Regions from separate parts of the Homo sapiens genome. Here regions 1, 3 and 4 are each linked to region 2. The links are contacts of gene promoters, found by promoter capture Hi-C in human tissues and cell types (Jung and others, 2019). All regions are on one chromosome and are shown on one strand. Each heading gives the region's core, a stretch centred on a gene start or on the middle of the fragment in contact. The rest is flanking DNA. Distances are from core to core; before and after follow the strand shown. Region 1 has its middle 150 kb from the start of LINC01117. Region 2 holds the start of HOXD9 (homeobox D9). Region 3 has its middle 78 kb from the start of LINC01117. Region 4 has its middle 49 kb from the start of LINC01117.

Region 1 (4,744 bases), core at 1,189-3,688, 670 kb before region 2:
AAAGGATTTATAATAGCCCTTTGAATGTTGTTGTTCCTTACAGTGCCTATAGATACGAGAAAAATAAAAGCGAGTTCTCTAGCAGGTAAAGTCTAAACAGTATCTAGGATGGAGCATTAGGACAATCAATGCAAGATGCTTACTTTTTCTTTTGAAGACTCACACACCTTGAAATGTTATTTAAGAAATTATTTCTAAAGAAAATGGTTGCACTGAATTTAATTTCAAATCAGCAGATTCATATTCTCTAATTAATCACGGCACATGCTATTTACAAAACTCCTGCTAAAAACAAATTTCTTTTGTACACATTACAAAGAAATGTTACATAAAATTAAGCACCAAGTAATGACTTTAATTTGCGGTTAGTTAATAATACACAGATGATCGCGCGGCTGTAAAGGAAGCCGCTTGGGACATTAACAGATATGCTGGCACAGAGGAATTGGAAACAGGCAGACTGTGAGGCATTGGGCTCAGCTCTGGGTAGGGAATAAAGAGGGCTCAAGAATCAGTGGACATTTGATGCTTTGACTTTCAGTAAGAGGCAGAAGCCTGATGAAGCCTTTGCTCAGAGAAGTCTGACCTTTAGGATTTTCAAATGGTTTCTAAGTTATTTTTTACCTCTTGCCCAGCAAAAAGGTTTTACAAAACTTAATGACATTTTTATTTAGCTGAGATTTCCTGAATGACCTTGGCTCAGAAGTACTTTTTGGCGTTGCAAGAAGCTATAATTGTCCCAAGTTCTGTGAGCCACTTTAACTCAGCTAATTTCTTGGTACTTAGTGATCCCAAGCTAAGGGACTCAGATTTTATATTTTGGGAAATGAAAATAAAATAAAGCCCTAATATTTGAAGGAAACCAATACGGCATCTCTCTGAAAGTCTGCAGGCTACATAAGTGATCATATAAACAGACACAAAAAAGAAAATGTTTGATCCCACATTGCAGCGAATGGGTGGGAAAACCAGTGGCCTCATGGCTTTGTGATTAAAGTTGGTTTAAGCCTCAAGAAAGGAAGAAGAGTGGTTAGGAGACTGAAAATGGTTTGCCTTTCTCTTATGGAGCAACTTTTCTGATATTTTCTCAGTTCTATTTACTCTCATCCAAAAGCCAGAGTGAGGCAGGGAAAAGGGTGAGCACAATGAGAGACTCCTTGTGCCCAGCCCTGGGAGAGGACCTCAGTGCCCCAAGACGTAGAGACTCCTGGAGGGCATCCAGGGCTCCCCTAGCTCACAGTGTCTCTTATTTTTCATTTCATGTGTTCACACACCTCCTTTGTTTTGTAGATGAAATGGTTATCAAAAAAACTGTAGACTCCATGGTGACATTTTAGCTTCTTAAACAGGTGACAAACATCCCTGGCATATCTAGGTTGGAGATTACATCAGTGCCACCATTACTCCTCTCAGGCATCTATGGCTGGTCTCTATTTCCCATGGAAGCTGAGTTAAGTCATTACTCCCATGGAACTGGATGGGAATGAGGAAGTCTGTAAACTTAATCCACAATAAAGCCTCACTGTCATCATTATTAGGCTTTGGGGCAATACAATAATACACTCACAGAGGCACACACACCATTACCAGACTAATGATGAACTGAAGATCAAAAAAAAAACTTAGGGAAGCTTCCGAATGGGATTAATCAACAACTCTAAGGCAATATCATGCTGTGCTCATGTTTTCTGCAAATATTGACATTGAAGAATTAAACATGTGGCTAAAAAGGATATCTTTTTCCCTGTGAAAGAAAATTTCTATGTTACTATTTCAGATCAAAGAGAATGCAGAACAATAGAAGCAAGAAGGATCCCAAATATAGTGTTGCAACTCTCCTCACCTGCAGGAAGGGGTGAGTGCTGTATATGTCTTTACTGTTTTTGTTTGTTTAATCTCTGTTTCATCACCAGTAATAAGAGTAATAATTACATTACACACACATATATTCTCTTTATAGATACAAACACATAAATACACCCATACATGTATATATTAACACACACACATAATTTAAGCTGGAAGAAGAGTGATAGAAAAGGACCTCTGTTTTTTTCCTTCTTTTGAATTTGGAAAGCTATTACAGACTTCTCCAGAAACATTTTGGGACAACAGGGAAGTCTGAACACAGGAGATATGGAAATGGGGCAATAGTGAAAGAGGAAGTTCAGATGGAATATAAGGCAGAGAAAGCAGGAATGATTTCTTGAAAGACAAGGCAGAATTGGTTCTGGAAACCAGAGGTCCCTCACTGAGTAAGTCGTGACTGTTTCAAACAAAATCAGCTGGGAGCTGACCAAGAAGGCAAGTGGTAATGCTTTGATGTGAAACATTTGTACACATGGTCCCACAATATGAAACATGGATGTATGCTTCCACATAAACTTGTTAGAGCAGCCTGTTTCAGGCAAAAATAGCTCCGTTGGTATTTTCTTGACTACATTTGATACTTGTTTACTGACCATTTAAGTTAGAGCTTGAGCATTGTGATAGTCTAATCTATCATTTAGCAAATATTCACTCCCTGTCCACCATCCCCAATTCCCGCCCCTCTATACCTCCATGGAGGCAGTACCTCTCTGCTTCATTGACGTGGGGTTTGGCCCTGTGACTTGCTTGGCTCGATAGAATACTAGTAGACTTGATATAAGCAGAGCCTGCAAATGTACTTGTGCAGTTGGGCTGGCCCTTCTTTTGCTTCTGCCATGAGAAGAAATGTCCTGGTTAGCCTGTTGGTCCAAAGAGGGTGAAGAAGACATAAGGAGCACATCTGGACCAAATCTGTAGCTTGAAATCAAGCCCAGCTGAACTGAACCTGGATCAGCCAAACCCAAATATATGAGGGAGAATAGATGATTATTCTGTTAAGCCATGGAGTTTGAGTGTGGTTTGATGTACAACATTAGCTGTGGCTAACTGATACCAGCAGAACTGCTGAATGCACAAGTGAAGGAGGCAAGGAATGCTCATTGCATCATGCTTATAACGCACAGTGAGTAAGCGAATGGCGGAGTCTCCAGCAAGGGTGTGCAGAACATGGAAAGTGGGGGCTACCATGTAGAGCACAGTAGCGTGAGGCTCTGCTGAGCACAGGTGGAGGGTCAGAATTAGGCTGCTTGTGGAACAGCATAGAGTAGAGTAGTGACTATTCTGCGTACAACTTTGTATAATCTGATATCCACAAGAGCTCTTGTTTTTGGAGCAAGGAGAGTGTGTTGGTGGTGGTGGTAGTGACTTCTTTCTGTTTGTTGTTTTGCATAGTTTTGAGATGGGGGCATAGCCATGGAGAGTTGAAGCCATGATCTAACCTCCATCTGCAACTGATCCCCTGGACTGGGTTATCACCTGGTGGGTAGAAGGGTAAGGGCCAGAGTCTGAAGGAGCTATTTTCAAGAGACATTGTCACCTGGACCCCAACATGGCCACTCTTGTGCATATCAAAGTATGGCACAGAACTAGGGTTGAGGACCATTCTCCCCTACTTCTTTGAGGCACCCAGACAGCTCTGGCTTCTTGAAGACTAGCGGGTTAGGGAGATGTCACCAGTGTTACACTTCGTTCTTACCATAGGCACCACCAGCTGGTGCTATAGTGAGGTTCCCTCCAGCCTGGCATGGGTGGAGGATCCAGGAGAGGAAGGTGTGGGGCTGCTTAAGGACCTGACTGGCAGGCATGTGAGGAGGCGAGACACTCCTTGGGGACTCCCAGGAATTCACTGGGAGGCCTTGGCAGGGATGCTTCAGCAGGGTGGGACAAAAGAAAGAAATTTGGGATAATAATGCTAATGGGAGCTCATTTGAATGCACATGCTGATGAGGACACAGAGATATCCCAGTTGGTTTATTGTTGAAAGTTAACTGTAGCTGGCTCAATTCCCACTGTCGATAACCACAGAACTTTCTTGGTGATTCTGGAGGGTGGGGGTGGGGGTCTCTCTTCAACTGCACATTTAGCCCAACAACCCAGCCCTACTGGAAGGAGAATATCACCAAGATATTGCCTCAGTGAAACTTCCACTGCATCACTTCAGGATGAAAACTCACAGGCTCATAATAATGTTGACAATTTATGTTGATGAGAGTTACCAAAGACATGTAATTGCTCAAGAGAAGTAGATGTATATTAAGAGAGAAAGGAAGAAGAAAGAAAGAAAAGAAGGGGGTAGAGAGAGAGAGAGAAATAGAGAAAAGAATAATCCCAATTAAAGATGTAAAAACTTAGAGATATACAAAGGTTCTTTTCTAACCACTGGTAACACCAATGCCTCTTTTTTCCCCCAGATAATAGGATATTTAACAGAAAACATAATACATTTATCATCAATGATGTAGAAATGATACCATTTCAGGAAGATAGAGATGGAAAATGGTCCCTTAATATTCCATGGCCTTGGTATAAAAAGTGAGTCACATCCACTCACAACTCAGGAAATTTCTTGATCTAAGTGCATGCTGCACTGCCCCCACTCCCAAGATGAGATAATAAATTCCGTCTGTTATTCTTTTTAGTTTTTAAAAAAAACATTTTGGTATCATCTGTAGAGTTTAAAATACCAGTGGTTTTATGAATTCCAAAGCAGCTGTTTGTCTGAAAAAAGTCTCACTGTCCCTGGGAAGTTTTCTCCAAGAAAGAGAAGTAAAAGATATTACAATTTTAATGTAATAATTGGTCTATATAAGACAGAAACAGCAATATTTACAACATTGTGAGTCAAAGCTTCTCATTAGAAGTTCTCATAGAAGGA
Region 2 (4,623 bases), core at 1,264-3,763:
TGGGGCCTGCTGGCTCTTCTGGGCGCTTCTGCAAGGCTAACACTGGGCCCAAGCACAGAGTTCGTGGAGGACCTTGAACCAGGCTTGGGGAGGCACCAATGTCCCCCCACAGGGTCTGTGCTGCTGCATCTGCCTACACAAAGGGATGTGAGGCAGAGAAGGCAGAGACACATCAGAGAGATCTGTCAGGTGGAAGGGCCCTGAATTTTTAACAATGTCTCACTCCCAGGGGTAGAGGAGAAATATCCTGAGTGTGATATTTTGCAGAGAGGCAGAGAAAGCAGGCACACAATGTTTAGGGCCAGCGTCTGGGCTCCATTTGATCAGGTCAGCATTTATTAGTAGGAAGCAGTAACATTTACAACTGGTCCTCGGGCAGGAACCGGGAGGGCCACCACCCGCGGCCGCCCACGCGAGCCCAGCCTTCAGGGGAGAGAGCAGCGCGTCCAATGCACTGAGGACAAACCCCAACCCGCCCGAGGCCCTGGGCTCCTCTAAGCCTCACTGGAGATCTCCACCGAGGTCCCGCGTGCTCCCTGAGGAAAGGGGGCTTTCGCAACTGGTGGGCAACCCCGCCGGGCTTCACCGTGGGCTAGCAGCCGGGGTGTCCGCACTGTTGTCGCTCTGCCTTCATTCTTGGAATTGGGGCGCACTTGGCCCCTGTTTGGGCAGTGCTGGGGGTGAGGGGACTAAACTACAGCACTTTTCAGAAACATGGGGGACATTTACACAAGAGAGGGCTCCCCAAGCCAGCTTGCACTCACAAAATATAGCATTTCTTAAGGAACCAATGGAGCAGGAAAGAGAGGGAGTGGGATAGGGCGAAACCCCAAAGCCACTTGGTTTTTCCAACACGTAAACGAGCAAATACAGAGTCCCCCAAATACCTCAGAGACCAACCACACAGTCACTTCTATCTAAAAAGAAAAAAAAAAAGAAGAAGAAGTCCAAGTCGCTGGAGAGTTTCTGGAAATCAAGCACCAAACACCCACAAAGGAAAACAGCAACAACAACAAATCCGCTGCCCTTGAGCGCTCCCGCCAGCACCGCGCCGGGTCAGTCTCCTTTGGGGCATTTCTCCTTGCTCATCTTTTTCATTTTCATCCTACGGTTCTGAAACCAGATTTTGACCTGTCTCTCTGTTAGGTTGAGAATCCTGGCCACCTCGTAGCGCCGGTCCCGGGTGAGGTACATGTTGAAGAGGAATTCTTTCTCCAGCTCAAGCGTCTGGTATTTGGTGTAGGGACAGCGCTTTTTCCGGGTGGAGCGAGCGTGGATCCAGTTCGCGGCGGGGTTGTCTACAAAGAGGGAGGTTTGGAGACGGGGAGAGAGGAGAGGAGGGGAGGCAGGGAGAGACCACAGGGTGGGGAAGAGAGGTCGTTAAATTAATTTCACCAAGGATGGTCGCTTTTCACAACTTGTGGGGAATTATCATAAAAAGCCTTAATGCTCGCGCTCTGTTTACCGTACTAACTGAGCGCCCAGGGTAGGTGGTTATGGGAAGCTCTTTTTATGGATGCATGTTGTTCGCCTAGGCTTGGGTAGGCGTCTAGACGTTTTTATAGGTTAGTAAAACTATCAGTTTTGCACATTCGAGCCTTACAGGTTTCAGCAATAAATCAGGGGGCAATTTCTTTTGCACTTACTTGGGTCAAGTTGCTGCTGCTGCGGCTGCGAATGCTGCTTCTCCTCCTCCTTCAGCGAACAGCCTGGGATCGGGTGGTCGCTGCAAGCTGAGGGCTCCGACGAGCCGCCCGTCCCAGTCGCGGCCCCGATCCCTGCCCCAGGCCCGGTTCCCCCCGTCGCCGCTGCCGCCTTCTCCTGCAGGAACGAGTTGCACGAGAACTCGGGGCCGCTGCTCCCCTGGGACTCCCGGGCCACGGAGCACTCAGTCCGTTTGGAGGAGGAGGATAAGGAAGTGGAGGAGGAGGAGGTGGTGGAGGCGGCCGTGGCGGGGGCCGGGGCCGCTCGGGTTTCAGGCTTAATCCCGTAGTGGCGCCCGTTGGCTGGGCCGCTGGGGCCAGGGCTGGGACCGCGGCCCGGACCGCCGCCTCCACCACCACCGCCACCGCCCGCACCGCCCGGGAAGCCGGGCAGCGGCTCCATCCAGGAGCGCACGTAGCGGCCGGGCTCGGAGGCAGAGGCGGCCAGGGGCGGCGGGGGAACGTACGGGTGGTAGAGGCCGCTCATCGCCGCCGCTGCCGGGGGCTGGGAGGGCACCGCGGACCACGAGGCAGAGAACACGGCCGATCTGGGGGCAAAACTACACGAGGCGAACTCGGCGGCGGTGGCGGCCGGGCCATCAGCCACACCTGCAGGCCGGCCCTGCGCGCCTGGCCCCGGCGGCCCGAAGCGCGCCGCGAACACCTCGTCGCCCTCATGGCCTATAAGCGAGTCCACGTAGTAGTTGCTGAGGGTGCCACTGGAAGACATTTTGAGGCGTCCCGCACTCCCACCCAACATTACACTGTCCGCCGCCGAGCAGCTCCCCGCCGGCGCCCGAGCCACCGACTAGTTCGCAGGCTGCAGCCTCCACCATTGGTCGCGCGGCCCACGTGATCATATTTACCAATACCGGGAGTAAATCAGTCCGCTAAACTGGGGGCTGCTGTGATTAAAAAAAAAATCATCAACATAAGCGCCGCAATTAGAGCCCGCAGGCCCAGGTCCATGTGCCCGGCTCGGCCCGGCCCGACCTGGCCTGGCCCGCCCAGCGGCTGCCAGGACCACAGACGCGACCGCATCCAGAGGAGGCGCTGGGGACTATTTGTTCGCTTCTTCTTGCAGCCCTCGGTCCCGCAGTCGGGCCCCGTCGCTGACTCTCCAGCTTCCGAGCCGCGGGCGGCGAGTCCAGGGCACACGGAGCGGCCGCGGGGGCGCCAGGCCGGTGTCGCCCGAGGCAGGCGGGCCCTCGGGGCGGCCCCTAGCGCCCGAGGGGAGCTGTTCTCCCCTCGCCTCTCTCCCTACTCACACCCACCCCTCCCCACACATCCCCACACACACGCTTGCTCACAGCTTGTCGTGTTGTTTAAAACAGGTGGAAGACCTCTGTAATGATATTATGCCTTTCAATAAAAATTTTATGAGGTGTATTTGATTATAGATTAATGTGTCCCTAATAAAACGGACGGATGGAGCAGATCGGAGGGCCCCCTCCCCCTGCCACACTCACACACGCCCGCGCGGCCACACACACCCCGACGTGAGGCTGGGCACACGCCGCGGCCCGAGGGGCGAGCCGGGGCGCGGCGGTGGAGGACACAGAGGGGCTTCTGCCTGCCCTCGGAAGGGCGGGCGGCCGGGCGAGTTGGCGCAGCACGGACAGTGGCGGCCAGGGTGCTTCGTCTTCTCCGATGATGCTGGAAAGGCCCTGGAAGAGAACACGCCACAGGGCAGAACCCAAATGCTAGAGCAGCTTGCTCCCGCCCGCCGCCTCAGCCCTGCCTCAGCGAGTCTCCCCGGGCAGGGCCGCTTCGCGCGGTTCGCACTTAAAGGCCTCGGAGGAGACTCCCAAAATGTCTAAAAAATTCGGCCGAATGGCTAGGTCCTTGGGACACTCCCTTCTGATTTTTTTCCCCCTACAGAGGTGAGGTTGAGCAGCCTTGAATCTGAGGGAAATGCCCATTGTCACTCCCAAATCCATGGTACAAAGCCTCGGAAGCCCGGCTGGGAGCCCAGACAAAAGCGGCCGGGGCGCCGGCAGCGGAGGGCATATTCCTTGCTCTACAAGTTGCCCAGCTCACCCTTGGAGGGCTCCCGGCCCACCTCCAGCCCCGAAAAGGAAGCGGGTAAATGGCTATTTATGGCCTGATTGATTACCTTTGCCAATAGCTTTCTGATTTTGTTCCAGATGGGATGCCTTTGCCTTGTAGCTCAGGCTTTCCTCGGATACATGGCCCGCTATCAACAGCTAATGGTATTCCCCACATGATCGGAGAAACGGCTAAATAAAAATTACCCTCCTCCTGCCCAACCGGTGTTAAGTCTGGGGCAAAGCTATTACAACGTTTTCAATCTAGCATTGATTCCAAGCCCTCTCCCCCACCCCCAGGAAATGGCCCCCTAAAAGAGTTCTGTCTTGGAATGTTCCTGGTTTTGGGGCGGAAGTTTAAAATTTTGAATGCCAGTGTCCCAGAGACTCCCTGGCTGAGGACTTATAGCACCTAAATGGATCGTTCTTAGGGAAACATTTAAAAGGAAGAAATGGAAAGGATGTGTTTTGTAAAACTGCTGGAAGCTATTTGAAACTGCAGGCAGGACCTCAGGTAACGAATTTTCTGTTAGCTTTCTCCTGCAAGGCCTCTTCTCCCTTTTCCCCGACAGGACTAGATAAGTCTGGGCTCTCTAGTGGAGATCCTGTTGAAGCCGGTGGAAGCTGGTGGGAGTCCCCTGGACCATGGCAGCGAATGGAACATTAGACTTCATGGGAAGTCATGTTCATTTGCAAAATTTTCAGTCACCCTTTCTGCATTTTCTTGCATCCCAGATGCAGCAGTTCCCACCAGCATTTTGTAATTAAATAGAGGAAAGACTGACTGGGGAAAATCTTTTCATTTCTTCCTTTAACAAAATTTCATGTGGGCCACTAAAAGGTAATGACTGAGCATAAAACCCGTCCACAAG
Region 3 (4,303 bases), core at 1,186-3,685, 590 kb before region 2:
AACAGGACTTTCTTTTCTGGTCCCTAAATTGTCACTTAAAGAAGCAGAAACCTGAGATCTTACAGATAGTAAAAGCTGCCTGATTCAGCTTTGAAATGTACAAACTTGAATGGCTGTTAGCTGTATATTTTTAAAGGATTGGTGAGCTATCTGTGCCTGAGCATGAGTTCCTAAATGCCTGATGTACTACAGTGGTTCTCAAAGTGGGACACCCTGGTCAGCACTCCTGGGAACTTGTTAGAAATACAAATGCTTGACCCTGTCCCAGACTTAATGGATCAGAAACATTAGGGATGGAGCCCAGGAGTCTGTATATTAACAAGCCCACCAGGTGACTGGGATACACTGTGCTAAAGTTTGGGAACCACTTGGGTAGGGTATGCTATGGTAGGTAGCCCAGATTCCCCATCCAGGACTGTAGTATTCTTTCCCCCAGGCTCTAGGAGTGTTGGTAGCTGCCAGCTGTCAGCTGAGTTCCTCTCCCAGCATTGCCTTCAGCTGAAGAGAGCTACCTCATCCAAGGCCATGTCTCCTCTCTGTAGTAGTAGATGGAGATTAGTCTATGGAGATAAGGACAGGGATCCAAAGGTTTGAGACTCTTTCCTTAATGTAGGACAACTCTGAAGGGCCATCCCAGTCCAGAGCCCCCCGTGGGATCCGCTGAGGCCTTTGTTTGTAACTGCATCACAGTTCAACTCCTCCCTCTGCCCAGTCCTGCTGCCCTTGCTCCTTCACAGGTATTGCTCCAAGGGCACACCTCAACCCACTTCCTAAGGAAAATCAGCGTCTCTCAGTCTGCTTCCAGGAGAACCAACCTGGCCCTTCTTGGTAAGATTTAGGACCATGCACTGTGCTCCAGAAGAGAGAGGGCCCTATACTCACTGCTCTGGAATGGCCCAAGGCAACAGGACACTACCATCTCCCCGCTGTTTCTGTTCCCCTCTTTGAGGCCTGCTGATAAAAGTTCTGCACTTCTTCCAACTTCAGTTACCAGAAGACCCTATTGGGAATACTTTGCCCATACCCCTTCACTGCCAAATTCTGGGCTAATCCCTGCTCTAGACTGGTGAGAAATGGTAAACTATGACTATTAACTCCCCTCTTAGGACCTCCCCTTTCTTCCCCTCTAGGTTTTCAGAAAATATGAAGCATCAAAAGGCTTTATTGTATTTTTCCGACTCACCATGTTATATCCCTATGTAAAAGCAAACTCATTTAAAGGAAGATGATTTTTTTCTCTCCCTCTTTTTCTTGTATTTTAAAATATTGTATGTTATATTCAAAGACTGGACATAATGTTTACAGCATGTTGCTAAAATTAGAGAACAGGTTGCAAAAACCTGTTTGTATACCGCAGCTCTATAGTTTAAAGAAGCACATGTTATACAATGCATTACATACTAAGTACATAGTATGCAAAGTAAGGGCATTTAAGATGTTAATAAAACTTCTGTGGCTACTTTTGTATATTTTCTGTTTCCTCGTGATTGTTAGAAATCAATAAGAGCTTTTTTCCTGAGGACATGTGCTCAGGGTGGACATGTGTCTCTTTTTGCTGCCCAGGGCAGCCCTGACTTACTCTTGCTGTCCTGACATAATTATTAATACTGTTCCCTTTCACACTCAAAAGTGTCCACAATGGATAACTTTTATGCTCATTCTACTTATGCAACCTAATCTACTAGCTAACAGTGTGCTCTGCTCACCTGTTTGTAGGAAAATCACATGGCAAGAATCTCAAAAAGAGATAGTACCTTGCAAATCCTTTTACCTGCCTGCTCTCACATACTCCCCTTCCCATACACGCATTGAAGCTAACTATTTTTTACTCAGAGGTAGTGCACAGTTATTGCACATCAGGGTTCCGAGAGGCGCTGTCCGGCAGATGGACACTGGTGCCAGTAAAGTCGGAGCTTCTATTTAGGGTCCAGGCACTTTGTGCCAATGACAGAATCCAGGAGCCATTCGAAGAGTCCTGTTCTCCCGCATTTGATTTAGCCAAAGTTAAATTATTTCTGCTCGAGGGCAGACACAACACCTCAAAGCGACTTAGATTGGCATGGGGTGGGGGCTACATTTTGACTGTGGTTCCTCTGCTCTCAAGAAACAAGTGGCTTATGCGAACCAAAAATATCCCAACCTCACTGAAATAGTGAGGGGAAACTTAACATATTCTTTATATTTGCTTCAATTAATCACCAAGTAAGCAGATAAAATAAATAGCTTATAAACACTAATTTCATCTAATCCTCACAATAGCCCTACTGGATCCTTTTGAATGTAATTACTCAGCATTTTCATCTTTATAGTTAATATTAATAATATCTCCCACTTCTTAGTCTTCACCATGTACCAGGCACTGTGTAAGAGACTTACAGTCATAAGCTCATTTCACCTCACCATACTAGTTGAATACAGGTTTATTTGTTGTTTATTATCTACCATGGCCACTATAAGCTTCATAAGGACATAAACTTTGTCTTGTTCACAATTGTATTCCTGTATTTGTAATTTTGTCTGGCACAGAGAAAGTTCTCAGTAAATACTTGTTGAATGCATAAATAAATTATTGAATGAGTAAGCCAATAAGCTCACAAGAAAGGTGTTCTTATCTGCATTTTGCAGTTGAGAAAACCAAGTCTTACAAAGAGTAAGGAATTCGTAAAGATTTTGTAGATCGCAAACTGGGGGCTGTCAGGTTCCAAAGTCTTGAACATGACAACACTCCCCCCCACTTTCCTGATGAGAAAACCATGGCTCTGGGAGTTAAATAGCCTGCTCAGTACCCACTAAGTATTAAGTTATTAGAACTCAGATCCAGGAACTCTGATTCTAACCAGCCCTATTTTCTCCTCATCATGTTGATGGATGGCAGGGTCAGTCACCATGTGGTTGGCATGTACAACCATGAACATTATCATTTGACAGAGGACAAGGGTAGGCAGTTCCCCCAAGCAAAACACAAATCCTCCAGTAGGAGGGTGTCATCATTCTCTGACTTAATCCTGGGCATTAGTGTTTAGTCAGCCGTGTTAGGTCATTCTTGCATTGCTATAAAAAAAATACCCGAGGCTGGGTAATTTAAAAAGAAAAAATGTTTAATTGGCTCATAGTTCTGTAAGAGCATGACACCCACATCTGCTCAGCTTCTGGGGAGGCCTCAGGGAGCTTTTACTCACAGCAAAAGGTGAAGCGAAAGCGGGCATGTCACATGGTGAAAGCAGGAGCAAGAGAGAGTGCAGCGGGGAGGTACCATACTGAAACAACCAGATCTCATGGGGATTCACCCACTGTCATGAGGACAGCCCCAAGAGGATGGCACTAAACCACTGATGAGAAATCCACCCCCATGATCCAATCACCCCCTACCATACCCCACCTCCAACACTGAGGATTACATTTTAACATGAGATTTTGGGGGAAAAATATCCAACTATATCACCCACTAAGAATGAATAGGGACCATAATGTATTATCTGGGCTGGGATAAAGCTTACTGCTCTGACAAACCATACAATTTCAGTGGTTTATCACAAAATATTTTACTTTTTAATCATGTAACAGTACAAGGTAGGTGTCATGGTGAGCAGCCAGCTTTCCTCCATGTGGAAACTGAGAGATTTAGACTCCTTCCACACTGTGGCCCCCTGGCATCCTTACGTCCTCTGTTAACAGTACAGAAGAGGAAAGACAGGGTGTGAAGAAGTCTTCTTAACCACCTTGGCCAAAGCTGGATACACCTTATTGCCCATAGACTAGTGGTAAGAACTAGTCCATGGCTCTACCAAGATGCACGTGGAACTGGGAAATACGATCTCTCCTAGGCATCCACTTTCCAGAGCCACATGGAAGGAGGAGCACAAATTTTTGATGCGCAGCCAGCATCACAGCCATTATGAGAATAGATTGGGCCAGGAAAAGATGGGAGATAGGAATCTGGGCTGCCACCTAGAGAAGGATGCATTTGAAAACAAAGCAGTGGGGAGAGGGTAGCAAAGGCCAACTTTGGCAACCTTTGGGGGTTTTGTAGACTTTTCTTCTTCAGAGGTAATGAAGGTGGAGCAAATATGTCTTTGCTGCCAATGTGGTGCACACTTGGAGCAAAGCATGCAACCTCTCATCCTAATTAACATCAAGCCACCACACTCAACAGTACTACCCAACAGGTTTCTAATTTCCATTCATGCCCACCTCTCGTTTCTCTACCTGAGTTGTAAATTATGAATCTTGCAAAATTGGACAATATCATAAAAGCTACAAGATGTATCGAGTGCCATAGCCTTCAGTTATCTTAGCTCATTAA
Region 4 (4,615 bases), core at 375-2,874, 560 kb before region 2:
CATAGGGTAGGTGTGTGTTTAACTGTCTATGCATTTTTTTTATTAACACTGTCTGAGAGTTGCCATATTAAACAGCAATTATCTTTTCTAAGTATATCGGGTTGAGCTCTGCAGTAGGAAAAAAGTGGAGTCTCTGGGCATTCTCATAGTAATCTCCCAAACTCAGCATTCAGGCTGTTATTAAATAGAAGAACTAGCAATTTTTCAGCAGTTACCTGTGCACACACAGAGGGTGGGTGCCTTTTTCACATCCTCCGCAGGTGCTGGGGAAATCCTGCCCCTCTACCATCAGGGAGATTCTCTGGAGACCAGGTGACATTCCAAACCTCAGACTTCCTAGCAGGAAATGCATCAAAACCCAAATCCTAACACGACAAAATCTTTGGCAAGGCCAACATAACATCCCATTCAGTCACTCAAGCTTCCACAAATTTTGATAACTTATCAGGACTACGACTGCCCTGGGTGCAGCACTGAGCAGTAGACTTCGGCCTGGAGAAGTCTCAGTCATTTTAAAACCCATCTCCCTCTGCTCAGATGATCATCTTCCCTCTGATTTACAGGGGCTGACCTGCAGGTGTTGAAAAGGGGCTCTTCATTTAACCAGACAGCAATAATCTCAGGAAGTATATTTCCACAGCTACATCGTCCTTCTCCCATTCTCACCACCAAAGCCAGCCAGCAACTCACTCCCTCCAGAGGTGACTCTGTAATGTGCCTTGGGCTATATCTGGGTCAGTGATAGGAAACCCTTATAATTCTACCCCCAAAAAGGCAAGAGAAAAATGATCACAGGGATCAAGGAGAGTGTCTCCTTATACTAATCTTTTTGCCTGATAAGAGGTGACCCATATCCAGAACTGGAGATTTATATATGCATTTTGACATAAATCTGCATCTGTAATTATGAGTCATAATGATCTTTATAGGCTGCACTAAATTGGTGAAGAAGAGTTACTGTTATTGACAAAGCATTGACCTGAACATTAGTGGTGGAAGAGCTAATTATATTTTTTCCTGAGGAGTGGGACTTCTTTTCTAGTTATGAATCACTTAGAATCGAGGCCTTTATTAAATACCTTTTCACATCTGAATATAAACAGAACTGAGCCTCCCAAGCACATCCTTTATCTTCACATAATTACAGATGTATAAAAATTTCAAAACACATTCTAGAGGCTTTTTTTTAGTGTTTCAAAGACAGTGATGAGGGTTTTGCAAGGTGACTGAAGAGGCTGATATATATTTTGTGAAAGCAAGCTGTCTGCAGGATACACTCCCATGTCTGAAAGACTGAGACCTATTTTTAGCTGGGCATGCTGGGATTCACGTGTGGAGCCACCATTAGCGTTAATAGAGCTCTGTGCGGCTGACTACTGTGTGCAGGCAGCCCAGAAAATGTACTCTTTAGAGCAATGGAATCTTCAAGCGAGCTTTAAATCATAGCCTTATCATACTTGCATGTTATTGGCAAGCCTGCCTAAAAATAGAATCTCATTACTTTAATTCTACAGTATTCTTAGGTGAGCCGACCTTTATTATTAATAACAGCATTTCACACACACACATATATATATATATATATATATATAGCACTGTCTGCTTAAGAGAACTTCACAAATTATACACATAAAACTTTCCTAGCTTAATGTAACAAGCTATGGGTAAAGGGGGCAGGAGGTAGGTGGTAAGTAGTGGCTCCCACTCTCCATCCAGGGTGGAGGACTGAGAAAATGTCACTAGGTGGCTCTAAACAAAGCCACTCTTTGAAGTTGAGCCATTTGCCCAACAAGCATTTTAATTCTGTGAAAGTATGTTGTATTTTTCATTGATAATTTGTAAGGCCCTGGGGACAGTCACAGCAACCCTGAGAATAATAGGCTGCTTCTATGATATATTTTTTGTTTATCTATTCAGGTCTTAGCTGAGTCTTGGAAACAAGAGCCACAATAAAAATGCATGCCTTTTCCACTCTCCAAACCACGAGCTTGCTCTGAGGAGCCTTTCTCTAAGCTTATGAACCCAAACTCAGCTATCGAGAATAGAAGGAGGATGGAACATTATCAGCCATCTATGCACTTACACCAATTACTTACCAAGGTTGTGTGAATGGTTAGTAGAGTTAGTAGCTGTGGTTTCCGGATAAATGTAGAGTGGATATGTAAATAATGCCTTCTGAGCATAGAGTAGTGTTACAGGCATGATTCTAGTTCTACACTGTAACTGCATAATCATGTGAGAAACAGAGAGTGAACTGTATGGTGGTTCAGACAGGTATTCATGCAGCCTGCAATTCAGTGGAACAAACACGGGATACCTATCTCCATTCCCTTAGTGCATTTAAGTATAAGTGCATGTCATCTATAGAAGCCGTCAAGTTCAGGATTTCCACAGTAACAAACATCTATGAAATGACTTCTGAGTCAAGCACTGTTCTAAAAACTGGATATGAAAATACTGAATAAGACATAGCCTCTACCCTCCAGCCAGCTTGCAGCTTAGAGAGGAAACAGATATGTAAAAGGAAATTTCAATCAGTGGGAGAAGCATTTTGATAAGAACAGAATATGCAGGCATTTCTAGGAGCACAGAAGAGAGGTGTGCAGCCAGGTCTTGAGTGGTCAGGGAATGCTTCCTGGAAGAGACGGCACGTCAGGTAGCCAAGCCAGGGAGGAGCAAGGAGAAAGTCCCTAAAGGCAGAGGAATCAGCAAGTACAGAGTCCTTGAGGCAAGAGTTACACAATCCTAGCACTGAAAATGAATCAGGGAGACTGGAGTTTATCTAGCTAAGGGCAAGTAGAGGCCACTGGAGGATGAGGCAGGATGCTGAAAGGCTGTGTGTGCCACATAGAGGAGCTTGGTCTTTATCCCGAGAGCAGTGGAGACTTCACAGCATAGTATTTGAAGGGGGCAGGACTAAGGTTTTATTCTGAAATACAGCAGGTAAGATAGTTCAGCTCATTCTGCCTCATAGTTGTACTTCTCAATGTGGCCTATACTGTCTCTTTTTCCCTGAATTTCCCTTTTCTTCCCTTTATATGAACTGTCCTAGGATAATGACATCTCAGTACTGAGTCAAAGTAAGCACACTGGGTCTTCCTGTGAACTCAGAAGTAAAATCAATGGAAAGACCCTCAGGACACTGGTTGATACCAGGACACATTCAATACTCCCAGCTGCGTTTGTGACACCAGAGTCTCAGAGGTAAATCCTACAAAATGTCACCGAGTTTTGTGCTCTTTTGATGGCTTAAGGCATGAAAAGAGGGACAAAAGGGAACTGCACAAAAAGGGCATTTCTTGTACATTGACCATGATAGATATGCTTGTTCAGGAAAGAAAAGGTGAACTGGAAAGCCCGTGTGTCTGATATGGACAGGAATGTATATGTGTTTGTGTTTCTGAGATGGAGAAATGCTTCTCGAAAGGCCATTCTATTGGCATGAACTCCTATCGTGGCCCCTGACAGCCTGCAGAGCACGGGCTGTTTGCATCCCACAAAGCTTCAAGGGGACTGCTGGCCCAGAGGGTCACAGACCAAAGGTGGCACGACACCTCTGAAAGCTTCTGGAAAGAGCCCAGTTCAACTGCCTTTCTTCTTCCTCCCTTTCTTCTTCGTTTCTCCCCATAGGAGATCCCTCGCCTCCCACATGGCTTTGGGAGAAGATGCTGTGATTGTTAATCTGGATGAAAAACGGGAAAACTGGGCTGATTATTTTGGACTATTCCTTCCCCTTGGAAAATCTGCTTTCAGACGTTCACTTCCAAATGCTAGTAAAGCCTTGTCAGCTGTAAAATGAGGGTTTGGGGAAAATTCAATAAAATCACCCATGTAAAGAGCTAAACACTGACCTGGTTATTATAGGAAGACCTCAATAAATGTTGGCTACTGGTCTCGTGACTCCTGTGAGCCAGCCTGGTTTTGATTTATTCTTCACTCCAACCTATAGGCTCTGAGTCCAACATGGCAATTCTTCCTTGTCTACCAACCTCCAAAGATGCTTGGGAGTTTGGGCACATATCTCATTTCGTATCCTCTAACAAGTACTTACATCATTCAATCTAGTGCTATCTTTTAGCAAGTATTTTTGAATTGGAGAGTTTCTGTAGGAGAAAAGGACTCAAGCTTAGGCAGAAGTTTGGTGAAACTATATTCACACAAAGCATTGTAAATGGAAAAGCAATTTGGCAATATATATCAAGACCCTTAAAAAATGCTCACATTTTTCAACTCAGTCATCTACCTCATTTCTGAAGATCATTTCCAAGGAAATCATCCAGAATATAGGAAAAAATACGAACATAAATATATCGACCGTGATACTATTTAAAGTATTTAAAAATTGACAACAACCTAAATATCTACGGATAGAGTTGTAGTTAAATTAATATTGATATATCAAAATAATGAAATAGTAGCAATTCAATTCTGCAGTTCCATTGGGAACCTTCAGAAGGATTCTACAGCAGTTTAACCTGGGAGGTAGGTTTGAAAGAACCTTAATGGCTTTCCTGATACAGCCTTCTTTTGAAAGACGATATATTCAAAATGGCCAGGCAACTTTGCTCAAACATGGGCACAATGAATAGATGGCTTTTTGAGTGTAGCTACCAAG

The links. Contacts are between HindIII fragments. The study calls those that stand out against the background at their distance.
Region 1: a contact is called between a fragment that was not itself captured here and the fragment with the promoter of HOXD9 in region 2, in 2 of the 25 tissues and cell types used here (heart left ventricle and liver).
Region 3: a fragment that was not itself captured here is called in contact with the fragment with the promoter of HOXD9 in region 2 in 1 of the 25 tissues and cell types used here (IMR-90 fibroblasts).
Region 4: a contact is called between a fragment that was not itself captured here and the fragment with the promoter of HOXD9 in region 2, in 1 of the 25 tissues and cell types used here (bladder).

Annotation. Positions count from the first base shown.
Region 1 is chr2:176,789,678-176,794,421 of GRCh38, reverse strand. No RefSeq gene overlaps it. Among named protein-coding and RNA genes, the nearest start is that of LINC01117, 150 kb to the right of the region's middle. The HindIII fragment of the contact is 7,005 bases long and covers 1-4,744 here.
Region 2 is chr2:176,120,609-176,125,231 of GRCh38, reverse strand. It overlaps HOXD9 (homeobox D9), which reads right to left and starts at 2,513. Exons shown (of 2, transcript NM_014213.4): 1 at 1,647-2,513; 2 at 295-1,298. The coding sequence starts at 2,463. The coding sequence ends at 1,057. The HindIII fragment of the contact is 11,890 bases long and covers 1-4,623 here.
Region 3 is chr2:176,713,957-176,718,259 of GRCh38, reverse strand. No RefSeq gene overlaps it. Among named protein-coding and RNA genes, the nearest start is that of LINC01117, 78 kb to the right of the region's middle. RefSeq lists a silencer at 3,195-3,274. The HindIII fragment of the contact is 4,268 bases long and covers 302-4,303 here.
Region 4 is chr2:176,684,236-176,688,850 of GRCh38, reverse strand. No RefSeq gene overlaps it. Among named protein-coding and RNA genes, the nearest start is that of LINC01117, 49 kb to the right of the region's middle. The HindIII fragment of the contact is 4,440 bases long and covers 1-3,844 here.